Linked DNA regions of Homo sapiens: regions 2 and 3 are each linked to region 1. The links are contacts of gene promoters, found by promoter capture Hi-C in blood cells and fetal thymus (Javierre and others, 2016). All regions are on one chromosome and are shown on one strand. The core of a region is centred on a gene start or on the middle of the fragment in contact, and the rest is flanking DNA. Distances in the headings are between cores, read along the strand shown.

Evidence for each region. The method cuts DNA at HindIII sites, captures the fragments that hold promoters and counts their contacts. A CHiCAGO score of 5 or more calls a contact.
Region 2: a contact is called between a fragment that was not itself captured here and the fragment with the promoter of TMEM263-DT in region 1, in 1 of 17 cell types (fetal thymus). The highest score is 5.1, in fetal thymus.
Region 3: a contact is called between a fragment that was not itself captured here and the fragment with the promoter of TMEM263-DT in region 1, in 1 of 17 cell types (naive CD4 T cells). The highest score is 6.8, in naive CD4 T cells.

What each region holds. Positions count from the first base shown.
Region 1 is chr12:106,953,157-106,957,344 of GRCh38, reverse strand. TMEM263-DT (TMEM263 divergent transcript) reads left to right here and starts at 1,850. Exons shown (of 1, transcript NR_185933.1): 1 at 1,850-3,832. TMEM263 (transmembrane protein 263) reads right to left here and starts at 1,438. Exons shown (of 4, transcript NM_152261.4): 1 at 1,280-1,438; 2 at 196-263. RefSeq lists enhancers at 491-550, 1,480-1,774 and a silencer at 1,051-1,810. The HindIII fragment of the contact is 6,686 bases long and covers 1-4,188 here.
Region 2 is chr12:105,332,179-105,336,366 of GRCh38, reverse strand. The region is part of intron 1 of C12orf75 (chromosome 12 open reading frame 75); the gene reads right to left. Among named protein-coding and RNA genes, the nearest start is that of C12orf75, 3.6 kb to the right of the region's middle. RefSeq lists an enhancer at 4,051-4,188. The HindIII fragment of the contact is 596 bases long and covers 2,180-2,775 here.
Region 3 is chr12:108,560,301-108,564,488 of GRCh38, reverse strand. It overlaps SART3 (spliceosome associated factor 3, U4/U6 recycling protein), which reads left to right and starts at 3,316. Exons shown (of 19, transcript NM_014706.4): 1 at 3,316-3,646. The coding sequence starts at 3,335. ISCU (iron-sulfur cluster assembly enzyme) reads right to left here and starts at 1,893. Exons shown (of 5, transcript NM_213595.4): 1 at 1,753-1,893; 2 at 97-210. The coding sequence starts at 1,866. RefSeq lists silencers at 664-713, 1,674-1,793 and enhancers at 1,404-1,473, 2,004-2,083, 2,154-2,213, 3,068-3,167, 3,178-3,237. The HindIII fragment of the contact is 633 bases long and covers 1,972-2,604 here.

The DNA.
Region 1 (4,188 bases), core at 601-3,100:
GGTACATCTGTTCTAACAAAGACTAAAGAAATGAAAGTGGAAAAAGCAAAACAGGATGCATATGGGTTTATCAAAGGCTACTTCTCCCTTTCTTTTTAAAAAGTTAAGCATGGGCGCGAGCGCGCACACACATACACACACACACACACACACACACACACACACACACACACACACACGGGCGCGCGCGTTTACCTGTTGGTGTTGTATCGATATTCCTGGGGAACCCCTGAGGGCACTCACACCAGCAGAAGTTTCAAAGGCTAAACAATAGCATACAGCAAATAATCACATATAGCAAATATTTTCATTTGGAATTAGCACAGTGTTCACAAGGACGCAAAAATCAAATTAAGAACCCTTCCCTTTTCTCTAGGTGTTTCTAAACCCTTCCGGGTGGCCCCTTCTCTCCCTACTGATCCCTTTAGGCACTAGCAAATCTTTTTTTTTTCTTTAGCAGTGAGTGACGTGGCAGGAGGCAGAAAATGACCCTGGAGGCGCCGTGGCTAGCACTGAGCTTGGCACCTCCTCCCTCCGCTCCACGTTGTACACCCAGCACTCCCCCCACTCCCGAAGGGCTCCAGAATTTCTATGTAAGAAGGGTTTAGGACAGGCGATCTGATTGGAAGTGGGAGCTGGGGGGTCGGTCTTGAAGCTGCGTGTGCAGAGCAGGCAGTTTTTATTTAGACTGGGAGGCAGTGACGGCACGGATGGGTGCTCCAGCCCTCCCTGTCACCCCTGGGCGCGGCCAGCACCCTCTCCATTCCCACTTTTACTTTAGGTTAGGCGTGGAGATACAGCCTTCCTACCCAGGAAGAGCTATGGGGGTGTCCACTGGGAAAAAGTCTTGTGTGCCTGAACCCAAAAGGGAGGTTTAGCAACAGGTCAGGAGTTGGCAGGGCGAGGAAGCCCGGTACCCAAGCCCCTCCGCTGCATCCCTCTCCCAGGCTGCTGATGCCCCTCACCTTCCTCCTCCGCCCCCAACCCCGAACCCCCAGATGCTAAGAAGTCAGGCGGAGGCTTTCCAGGGGTGCGCAAGCTCCAATCGCGGCGGGGCAGTCAGCGACGTATAAGGAGGAGTAGCCCCAGAAGCGAACCTCCATCCGCCCCCAACTTCGTCCCGCCCCTCCCCCTTTCCCGCTGGGGCCTCGCCAAGGCCCCGCTGGGCAGCCAGGCCGGGCACTGGGAGGTGAGGGGCAGGGGCGCCGACGGCAGAGGGCGACGGAGGAGGGCAGGAAGCCGGGACTGCGCCCCTGCCCTCGCATCCCGACTCACTCACCGCCGGGGTCGCGGCCAGCGCTAGGGCTGGGGCCGGGCGGAGTGAGCGGGCCGGCGCAGAGGAGAGCTGAGGCGGCCTGGGCGGCAGCGGCGGCCGGCACAACCCCGGGCAGTCGCGGCTCCAGAGGCGTCCTCTCAGGATGTGGAGCTGGAAGACTGTGGCGGCGGTGGTGGAGGCGGAGGCCTCTGGCTGCGGACGTGGCGCCCGACGCGACCCGCCCCCTCCGCCGCCTCCTCAGCTCCCGCCTCCTCCCGCGGCTCCAGTTCCGACGCGCACGCGCGCTCGTGCAGCCCGGGCCCCTCCCGCGCCCACCGGGCACACGCCCACCCGTTCTCGCAGGGTCCGGCCCTCCCAGCAGTCCCCAGCCGGCTGTGTCCCAATTGCGCACGCGCGACGCTCCGAGGCCCGCTCCCGCCCCTTCGCCCCCTGGACGCCTCCGTGGGAACCCCCGGCCGGCCTGCGCGCCCCTCCTCCGGGGGTCTCCCCGCCTTCTTCCCGCCACCATCCAATCAAATCGGGCGAGGGGCGCGAAGCCCGGGAGACGCGTAGGCCGCGGCCCCCAGGCCCGGTGTTTTGACGTCGGCGGTGCCCGCGTTCCGCGCCGAGTAACGGTCTTCGGAATTCAGAGCCTTCGCCTTAGGGAAGGTGGGACGGTCGCCAGTTTCTCCAGCACTTTCTTCGTCCAGGGACGTCAACCTCCCTTGCATGCTGTCCTCAGGGACTGACAGCGGGGCCTGCTCAGAAGTTCTCGTCGGGACTCTCTACAGGCCTTTGTGATTAAGTGCTAGGGGTGAGGAGAGACGTGGCTTATTTATGTGTTTTTCAGTTTGTTATGATTTTTTTTTTTTTAATTTTACTTCTCCCTGCCCTAGAATTGAGCTCCTTGAGAGTAAAAACCCGCCTGGGTCGCCATCACCCTAGGCTTGGTGCAGGGCCTGCCAGGCGCTCGAATTTGTTGAAGAGGTGGGTGTTCAGTATCGAAAGAGCCGCGGATTGTACATTAGAAAGCCTGGCTTTGCGCCGCGTCCTTGCCACTTGCTGACCAGGCCCCTCCACGTGGTCCCCGCCGGGGCAGCAGCTCTCCTCACCCGTCCAAAGGCACGGGGAGGCGCGTGGCGGCCCCGCCAGAGCTGAGCCCCCTGGGATGTGAGGCCGTCTCGCTCTGAGCTTCAGAGCAGGGTTGCAGGAGACACCTCAGAAGGTCGTTTTGAGGACGGGAGGAGATGAACTGCTCAAAGCCTGCTTAACTAGATAAATGGTATCGATTAACTTTTCTTTGACTCCCTTTCCACACCTATAAAATGAAGATGACGGGAAACTTGTCATACTTTTTTTGTGGTGGGTGGGAAAGGTCTTTATGAACTGTGAAGTCCTATGCAAACGTGAGATGTTTCCTTTCGCAATCTGATTAGCGAAGCAAAAACACGCGAGTCAAAAACATACACAGAAAGCAAAAAAAAAAAATTCACAAAATGGTTTATCAACTGCAGAATATTCAGGATGGTGGAACTGAATGGTAACTACTGACAACATAGCTCAGAAAGGACGTGCTAAAACATGCTGGATGAAGCTAACTTTGATCCAGGTCTTAAATGGAATGGACTATAGTTTATAGCTTCAACCTAATCATTAACTTATGAAATCAGAGAATTAAGGCCACTTAAGCCACTGTGCTCAGACTGTCAAGATATTTAGTTTCTCAAAGCAGAAAGAGGAAATTAAATACTCTTGTCAATTCAACATATGGGTTGGATGATTAGCAGGATCCGTGGATTGTTGTTTATCCAGTATGTGAAGAAACGGATATCCTCTGTTTTCTCGTTATTACACAAACTTCTATCCTTAATATGTGACCTTTCAAGGTTGAACTCTAGGTAAAATTATGAAGTGCACAATTACGTCTTGTTTCTTCTTCCCTTTGCACGTCGTTTTACAAGAGAATCTAATTATTATTAAAGTACAAATGACTGACAAGATTGTAGCCACTCCTGGGAGATTTTGCATTTTTACGGTTATTAAAAGCCATAACTCAAAGCAGCAGTTGAATCTGTTTCATAAACTAACTAAGATTTAAAAGAGCTCCTTTGGGAGGTCATGAGTTCATCAGAAACTTCTGGTGTAGGAGTTCAGCCTATAAAACAAACAAATACATGACTTGTAGTATTTCTTCGTTTTATAGTCTGAACTCCTCTAAGTTCTTGATTCCCATTCTGTGACCTCCCTTTCTTAGATTGTTAAAATAAAATACAGATGACTCACGCCTTTAATCCCAGCACCTCGGGAGGCTGAGTCGGGAAGATCACTTGAGCCTAGGAGTTTAAGACCAGCAAGGGCAACATGGGGAGATCCCATCTCTTAAAAAAATAATAATAATAATTGAGCATGGTGGCACCCTCCTGTAGTCCCAGCTATTTGGGATACTGAAGCAGGAGGATTGCTAGAGCCTGGGAGGTCAAAGCTGCACTGAGCCGTGGTCACACCACTGCATTCCAGCCTGGACAACAGAGTGAGACCCTGTTTCAAGAAAAATAAAATGAAACATTTATTTCTGGATGTTATTTTGAAAGATTTTGTCATGTCTTAATGAGCCCTGGCCACGTAATCACAGCATTTTGGGAGGCCAAGGTGGGAGGATTGCTTAAAGCCAGGAGTTTGAGACTAGCCGGGTCAATATAGTGAGACCCTGTTTCTACAAAAAATAAATAAATAAATAGCCAGGTGTGGTGGCACGCACCTGTAGTCCTAGCTACTTGGGAAGTTGAGGCAGGAAGGTCACTTGAGCCAGGATTTCAAGGCTGCAGTGAGCTATGATTGTGCCTCTGCTCTCCAGCCTGGGTGACAAAGTGAGACCCTCTCTCTTAAAATAACAATAATGATGAATTCTTAGTGCCTTCAGGCAATAAAATTCT
Region 2 (4,188 bases), core at 1,228-3,727, 1.6 Mb after region 1:
CCTCAGCAAATTGCCCAAGGTCATACAAATGATGAATGGCAAATGTAGGATTTGTACTTGGCCTTTTTAGCTGCAGAGCCCACTCTCAACTCTGTGGCCTCAGTGCCTTTCTGTCCTCCTCGTCCCGTATCCTAACCATTCTTTCTTCCCAATACCCTGCAACCAATGTGAACGACTACATCCAATCAGGCTAGACTTCTTACTAACCTGAAATGCGCCAAGCCCATTTCTGTCTCTAGGACTTCCTACAGCACTAAAAATGACCTGCCTTCCATTTTCTGCTATCCAAATCTTACCTATTCTTCAAAGCCAAATAAAGTTCCACTTCCTCCACGCTATTCTTCAAACCCAAATCAAGTTCCACTTCCTCCATGCAGGCTTCCCTGACTTCCTGAGGTTCTATTTTCTTCACTCAATTGCTACATCAGTACAGTGTGCCCACACCAACTTAGGACTTCATTTTGAATCTTTTTTGTTTCCCAAATATACTCATTCATTCAACAAATATATTTCAAGAACCAAAAAATCCATTTAAAATGTGGAAACTGGTCTAGAGGCTGAGGATATGGCTGTAAACAAAATGTATAGGCTTTCATGAGGCCTCCATTTGTGGGAGGGGAAAGGAGACAAGAAATAAACATAGTATCAGCTCTCCAGCAAAAAAGTGTTTCACACAGAGAGAAAACAAGAGTGAGTTCCATTAAAAATGTGGAAACTAGTCTAGAGGCTGAGGATACAGCCGTAAACAAAATGTATAGGCTTTCATGAGGCCTCCATTTGGGGGAGGGGAAAGGAGACAAGAAATAAACATAGTATCAGCTCTCCAGCAAAAAAGTGTTTCCCACAGAGAGAAAACAAGAATGAGTTCAGCATGTTTAAAGAATAGAAAGAAGGATGGTACATACTTGTGGGGAAAGGGGAGTAGTGCAAGATAAAAATGATATCAACAAAATTTTGTATTATTTTTACATTATTTCCCCCACAAATCTTGCACTATTGCTAAACAGAGCTGTATCATTTCAATACTACCAAACCATTTACAGATGTAATTAAGCCTGGACCAATATAGCTACCTCAAAAGAATGCAATTATCTAGCTAATTGAGGACAAGGACATAACTAATCTAAAATATTGGGCCCAAAAGGATTGTATTAACTCCCTGGGATACACTGATAAAATAGGGTAAATAATTATCAAGCTCCTCCCCCTCGGACTATTGTTACATAAACAGCAGAAAACTATTATGGAAACATTCTGACAGTAAGTTGCCTGCAAAGTTAAGATCAGTTACCAATTACATATCTCTGGCAGAAAAAATTCAACTAACCAATTTAACCAAATATCATGAGCTGAATATTTCTGAGATAACTCCTGCTGCAAATAATTTCTACAGCCTTAGCCTGCATTAAAATAGACTACTGTAGATATGGGGAACTATCCAAACTTTTAAGGGATTTTCTGGTTTACATAAAAAGGAATTTCTGATTTACATTACAAAGACTTGCTTCATAGTCTATATGAATGTGACTATATAAAAGGGAATGACCAACCTGCTGACATCATTAACTCAGAATGCAAGGTTGGTCATTTCTCTGCCTAGTCCGGAGACATGCTCGGGGGAAAAACAAGTGAGTAAAGAATCTGACTGCAGAGAAAGAGTGAGAGTGAGCGAGAGTGCAAAAGCTCCCTGCCTTATAACAAATGTGACACTTTAAAATGAACTATTCAATCCCGATGTTTCTCCATAATTTGGGGTCTAGACTCCAGACCATGCAGAAAAAATATGCTGCATCCTTTATATAGTTGCAGGTTGGGAAAAATCAAATTCCTACCTTGAGAGAGTGATGATATCAAAATGTGAAAGTGGAGAGCTTTTGTGTACTCAAAATGCCTCTCACATTTCCATCTAGACCCCCAGCTCAACTCCTCCAGGAGGACTTCTCTGATTTAACTGTGTCATTCAATATCTCCTGGAAACTTGAAGGTCCAGATTATATTCTATTATCCACTGCTTTGCAGTGATTCTCAATTGCTTAATCTTCCTACCTAGACTATCAATTTCTCAAGAGCAACAAAGTTTGACTTCATTCTACAAACATCCATTGCTGGCTGCCCCCAGCGTTGCCCTAGAAGTTCCCAGCAGAGGAGGTCCCACATAGGGGTGGACGATGTGTAAGCTTACAGTTATTAATAGAAACATACTCCAGGGGCAAGTCTACCCAGAATTATCAAGGGGCTGATCCATCTCACTACTCCTTATGGCCACTTGACCCTTTTACTCCATACCAGTTTCTCCATGCATCAGGCATACGGAATCCACTTAACTCAAGTACACTACTGCATATCAATCTGTCATGTTAACCAAGTCCACCAGACAAAAGCCAAGAGAGGCAGCCATCCTGCTATCTCAGGGAAAGGGGAAACAATTATCCAGTTTACCTGAGTAACTCAAAAAGTAAAACAGGGCTCAGAATGGAGATTTCAGATTTAGGGGTATTGTAATAATATGTTAATGCATCAAAAAATATTTGCCATGTTCTTATAGAAAAATATTCAAGGAAAACCACTTTGCCTTCAAAATGGTGATAATAATATTATTATATAGTAATAATTACAGTTTACAGTGTGCTTTCATGTTATTTTTGAGTTTCACATGAGCCTTATGAAACAAGATACACCGAATTATTCCCATTATATAAACAAAGAAACCAAAATTCAAAAAAGTAAAATGAAACACCCACAATAATGCAAACAGCACAGCACCAAACCTAAGCTTAAGCTCACTGTCCAGACTCTTAAGTTCAGCACCCTTTCTACAATCTCTTTGTACATTTTTTTTTTCTGAAAAGTTTGTATGGCTACTGAATTCTATGACTCCTGGGACATATTGGAAGTAGTGCACTGTAAGTAACTAGAAGAGAAAGACAATATCTCTTTAACGCGTTTCGTATTGCTCGGGTTCAGTCCTCCTAGTGTGCAGCTTGGTCAACAGTGCAATTGACGCTGATGCCCAAGCTCACAGCTGAGATTTTCAGTACCTTTGCATTGTGGTTTATTTTTCTTTACATCTCTCATCCTGATGTATTTCCTCTCTGAACCTAAATTCCTAACACCAACTGACAGAACATTTCAAAATAACAATGACCAAATCCCAAAGTCAGCCAGGTGGACTCACAGGCAGGCAAATGTTTGGGAATGGCTTCTCCAAGACAAGGGCATATCCATCAAAGAGGTGATGCAATAACTCCCTGCTCATCATGTTGTCTCCTGCATGTTTTGAATCTGCACTCAATATCCTTCTCTCCTCTGAACAAAAAGTAATTTTTGGCAAACAGCAAGCTGGAGGAGAGAATAGCATGCTCTCACATGCACTGTCCACAAACAAAAGTGAGGCTGCTCCTCAAACTACTCTTTCGGTAGCTTTTTTTTTTTTTTTCAATATGACTTCCCTTTAGGTGATAAGAGAGATGCTCCTAGGGAAAAAGTCAATCAAATATTCATAAAGATAATCATATTTCCCCAAGAAATCATATTTTCCCCCCAAATTTGATTTTTACATTAACATTTTAGAGCTAGCTCATCATACCTTACCATCTTTCTATTTTCTTTTCTTTTCTTTTTTTTTTTTTTTAGATGGAGCGGAGTTCCACTCTTGTTGCCCAGGTTGGAGTGCAATGGTGCGATCTCAGCTCACTGCAACCTCCGCCTCCCAGGTTCAAGCAATTCTCGTGCCTCAGCCTCCCAAATAGCTGGGATTACAAGCAGGCGCCACCACGCCCAGCTAATTTTGTATTTTTAGTAGAGACTGGGTTTCACCATGTTGGTTACACTGGTCTCGAGTTCCTGAGCTCAGATGATCCACCCACCCCAGCCTCCCAAAGTGCTGGGATTACACAGGCATGAGTCACTGCGCCTGGTCCATCATTCTGATTTTCATTTGGCAATGGTACCCCCTCCCCATCCCTAAAACTGACAAGCAGTTCATTAATAAATCAAAATGTACATGCATGAAACTAGCCTCATTTTAAGGGAAATCTGCTACAAATCCTTCCTACAATTTTTTTTAATGTGGATAACTTTTCTTCACCTTTTTTAAGTAGGCTACACATGCAGTGGATTGCATACGGCCACAGTACCTAGTAGACTGAGACACAATTTGAGTGCGGGGTGTGGCCCTGACATTGTTTC
Region 3 (4,188 bases), core at 1,039-3,538, 1.6 Mb before region 1:
CTCACAGGAATAAAGATGGAGACCAAGTGAAATGCGCAAGTGCTTTGTAAACTTAAAGGGATTATTGTTATCACTATTAAAAAAGACTAGCCATACCTGTAATTTCATTACGTCACCACATGCTGGAGCCCCCACCAGTCCAGTTCCAACATTTTTAGATGTCTTGTCAAGGGACCCCACGTTTCTAGGATTTTCATAATGATCAACAACCTAAAATGAGAGGGTTAAGATAAATCATGTTCACTCTCTATTGGTACTGGTCTCTGGTTTGATGGTAAGCTCCTCGGTCAGCATCTTGAACCTGGCAGGCAATCACTAAATACCAAATTTCACCTGAGTAGAAAGGTCTACACTCATGTCAATGAGAACCATTTGTGACCCCCAATTCCTTTTGTGTCTCCTCTACAATACTTCACAGATTTGAGATACCTAGAAGAAAAAAAAATCAGTGAAATCATGTCTTAGTTCCATAGGATTTTTACAAAAATACTTGACTTTCACCCACCTACATCACCAGACTTGGGCTCAAACAGCAGTTTTGTTATTTTCAAATAAAATCCATCCTCAAAGGATGATTACTATTTAAAAATTCTAAAAATAACCATGGCCCAGGGAGGGAAAGCTTTCTTAGAAGCCTTAAGGTGACTGTTACACAGGGAACAATGCTATGGAATGTGTACGTTTATGTGTCTTTTAAAATAAAAACAGTGCCATTACCGTATTTCACAGCCTGTCATCACCCTGGTGCAGCAGCGCACCCTGGCTGCTGAAAGGCTGCTAGTCCAAGTTTCTTCAGGGTGTACCCTCAACAAAACACACCCCCGGGAGGGGGAGGAGTGAAGAAGCCCTTGGAGAAAGGGCAGAAGCCAGATCACAATAAACATCCATTCGAACTGGCACACAGAAGGCCTTAATAACCTTGAGGTTTGGTTACTGGTTAGTAGTAAGCACGCCGATCTTCCAGTCCCCTTTTCCCCCCATCTGACTAAGGATTTTGACTCCAAGTAAAAGGGACCTCAGGATAGTATCTAATGTAGGGGCCTTTTGTGCCACGTTGATTTATGGCATTCTTTAGTTGTTTCTCGAGTGGGAGTCTCACGTCTGGGGGACTTTGTGCCACCAGACAGCAAGGGGCTGCAGACTATGAATCTATCCCTCCTTCCCCGCCAAAAAACCCCCCAAACAAAACAAAAACATTACGCATGTTGGTTACAAGCCTGACTCCCCTATGCACTCCTAAAGCAGTAACAGAAACGGTCTCCTCGTGCTGGGGCCTATGTGCCAGGAACCATGCCAGGACTCCACGCACAGTATCCTTTGTAAGGGACAGCTGAGAGCCCCCCATTTACACCTGGGGAAACAGGTTCAGAGAGGCGCAGTGACTAGCCCAAGGTCATCTGGCCAGGGCAGCGGAGTGGCTGAAGCCGGAGCCCGCTCCGGGGGTGTGTCTGTCCCTGGACTCAGAAAGACAAGTCCCAACAGGACCCTGCCTCCTGGGCTGTTGGCGAATTTAAAATTGGGACGCACGAAGTCGCGGCCAGCGGCGGGGCCCCCTGGAAGTCGCCGCCCGATGAGCGGTAACTGTTGTTTATCAGTTGCAGTGAGCCTCACTGCGCAGCAAGGGAAAGCGAGTCAGGGCAAAGACGTGGGAGGGGACAGCTCCCAGTCCTAGCTGCGCAGAACCCCGCGGCCGCCCCTCCAGCCCAGGCCTCCGCTGAGTCGGCATTCCGCGCGTCCCTCTTTTGTCCCTACCTTCTTGTGATAGAGTCGGGCCGGGGCCGACAGCTCCCGGGCGGGCAGGCGGGGGCTCCGCAGCAGCAGAGCCGATGCCGCCCGCCTCAGACGGAAAGCCCCAGCCGCCGCCATCTTGCCGGCTTGCGCCTGCGCCAGTCCAGAGCGACGCCGAGGGGCGGGGCGCGTCTGCGAGTCGGCTCCGAGCTGGGAGCGCGCCTCTCTGACGTCACCGAAGCTTTGCGCCTGCGCTTTACCGCTCCGTGCACGCGTCCGCCTTCTGGCCCCGCCTTGACCACGCCTCTCGGGGGCGGGCGGGGTCGGGAGCGGGAAGGTCTGAAGTCGCTGGAGGGCTTGTCCTGGGTGCTGGATTCTGGTTGAGACAGGACCTCAGGGCTTCTGCAGTGTGGGGCTCAAGTTCGCTTTCACAAATCCCGCTGCGGGAATGCGGCGCAGAGGAGCACCGAGTCCACTTTTCCTAACCCTATTTTGCAGCTAAGGAAGCCGAGATTCAGGGCAGTTTAGTAAGTCCGTCCAAGGTCGCTAAGGACTTATGTTCAATTAGAATTCGAACTTGGGTAATCCTGGGTTAGAATCCTGGTTCGGTTCCTTCCTGGCTGTGTGTCCCTAGACGAATGGTACCGGCTCGCTGAGTCTGAATCTTCCCTTTTGTATTAATTCGAGGACAATTGCTTCATCATGAAGCCAGCATCTGTGTCGAGTACCTACTATGTGTCAAGGCGCTCTACTAGACCCGGGGATCCAACGGAAAGCAAAACAGACATAATTCCTGCCCATTAAGCCTGCTAATGAGGGAGCAAGGTAGAGATAGAGACACACACCAATACTTTCCTACCTCAAAAATGGGAAGCTTAAGAAGGAAACGAATACCATGTCCTGATTGAAAAAAAATGAATATGTCTATTTTTCTCTCTAAAACAACAGCAAACTCAATTTATATGTCAGTGCCTAGCAATTAAGAATTTCTAAAGAAATGCGTATTAATGTAATTTACTGTTGGTTTGCAGTATGTGATCTTATAAAACCGGAAAACTCACGTGTATTTAACGTCTACTAGGTACCAGACGTTTACATAAAGGGGAGGAATCTGGGAAATGGATTTTTCTCTTGAATGGTGAAATCGATCCTTCCCCGAGGACCTGCAGTTTTCTTTGCGTTTGAGGCGCAGTTGCTGGGGAGAGTAAACCCAAGCGCCAGGTCACACTAGGCGATAAGTAAGGCATTTAATCGAAGAATCACTTTGACCTTCTCAAGATGGCGCCAAATTCTTCACTACAGACATCACTCTCGCTCCATGACTTCCTCTATGGCTTCCACTTCCTGCCCAAAGACCCAACTTCTGTCCGAAGTTGTGACGGAACGCATGCCATTATAATGAGTTTTTATATCTGGTGGGAGCTTTTACAGGGTATAAAATAATGTGAATTTAGTGTATGTGGAGATTTTCCTGTTATCTAAGTTCCCAGTTTCTCTTTCAATGGCAAGAAAACGGGTTTTTGATAAGGCGCGCGCCGCGGGCAGCTTCTGCCTCAGCGGGTCTTCGGCGGCCGCGGGAAGACCCGAGAGTCATTAGAAGCGCAAGATGGCGACTGCGGCCGAAACCTCGGCTTCAGAACCCGAGGCTGAGTCCAAGGCTGGGCCCAAGGCTGACGGAGAGGAGGATGAGGTTAAGGCGGCTAGGACAAGGAGGAAGGTGTTATCGCGGGCTGTGGCCGCTGCGACATACAAGACCATGGGGCCAGCGTGGGATCAGCAGGAGGAAGGCGTGAGCGAGAGCGATGGGGATGAGTACGCCATGGCTTCCTCCGCGGAGAGCTCCCCCGGGGAGTACGAGTGGGAATATGACGAAGAGGAGGAGAAAAACCAGCTGGAGATTGAGAGACTGGAGGAGCAGGTGGGCCCGGGGGTGGGCAGCGGGCATCTTCCAGTCTTTCAGGTCCTCGGGTCCCCATGTCCTGGCCCGCCTCCCTAGTCCTCGGCGGCGATAAAGCCGCCAAGGCTGCAAACCCGCTTTTCGTGACAGTAGCTCCTGTCGGATTTGAGTGCTTACTGCCTGCCCATTGCCTTGCAAACGTTATCTCATTGAATCCTCGCCACGACCCTGTGAAGGAAGCCCTGTTATCTATCCCCATTTTACTGGAGGAAACTGAGGCTCGTGGAGGAAAGTTTCTTGCTCAAGATAACACTTCCTGCAAGTCAGGCCTTGTACTTTGATCCCATTCCAGAACTCCCACTCTTAACCACACGTCCAACAGTAGAAATAAACTCATTCGCAAGAGAGTGTTATTTTGTTATGTAGGAATGACGGCGATGATGAAACTTGTGGTAAGAAAAATATTGACCGCGATGGTGATAATAGAAATGGAAAGGTTTCTGGTTCTGGAGGTTAAGGCCTCAGTTCTAGCTGTTCAACTCTTGTATGTGCTTGTAAGAATT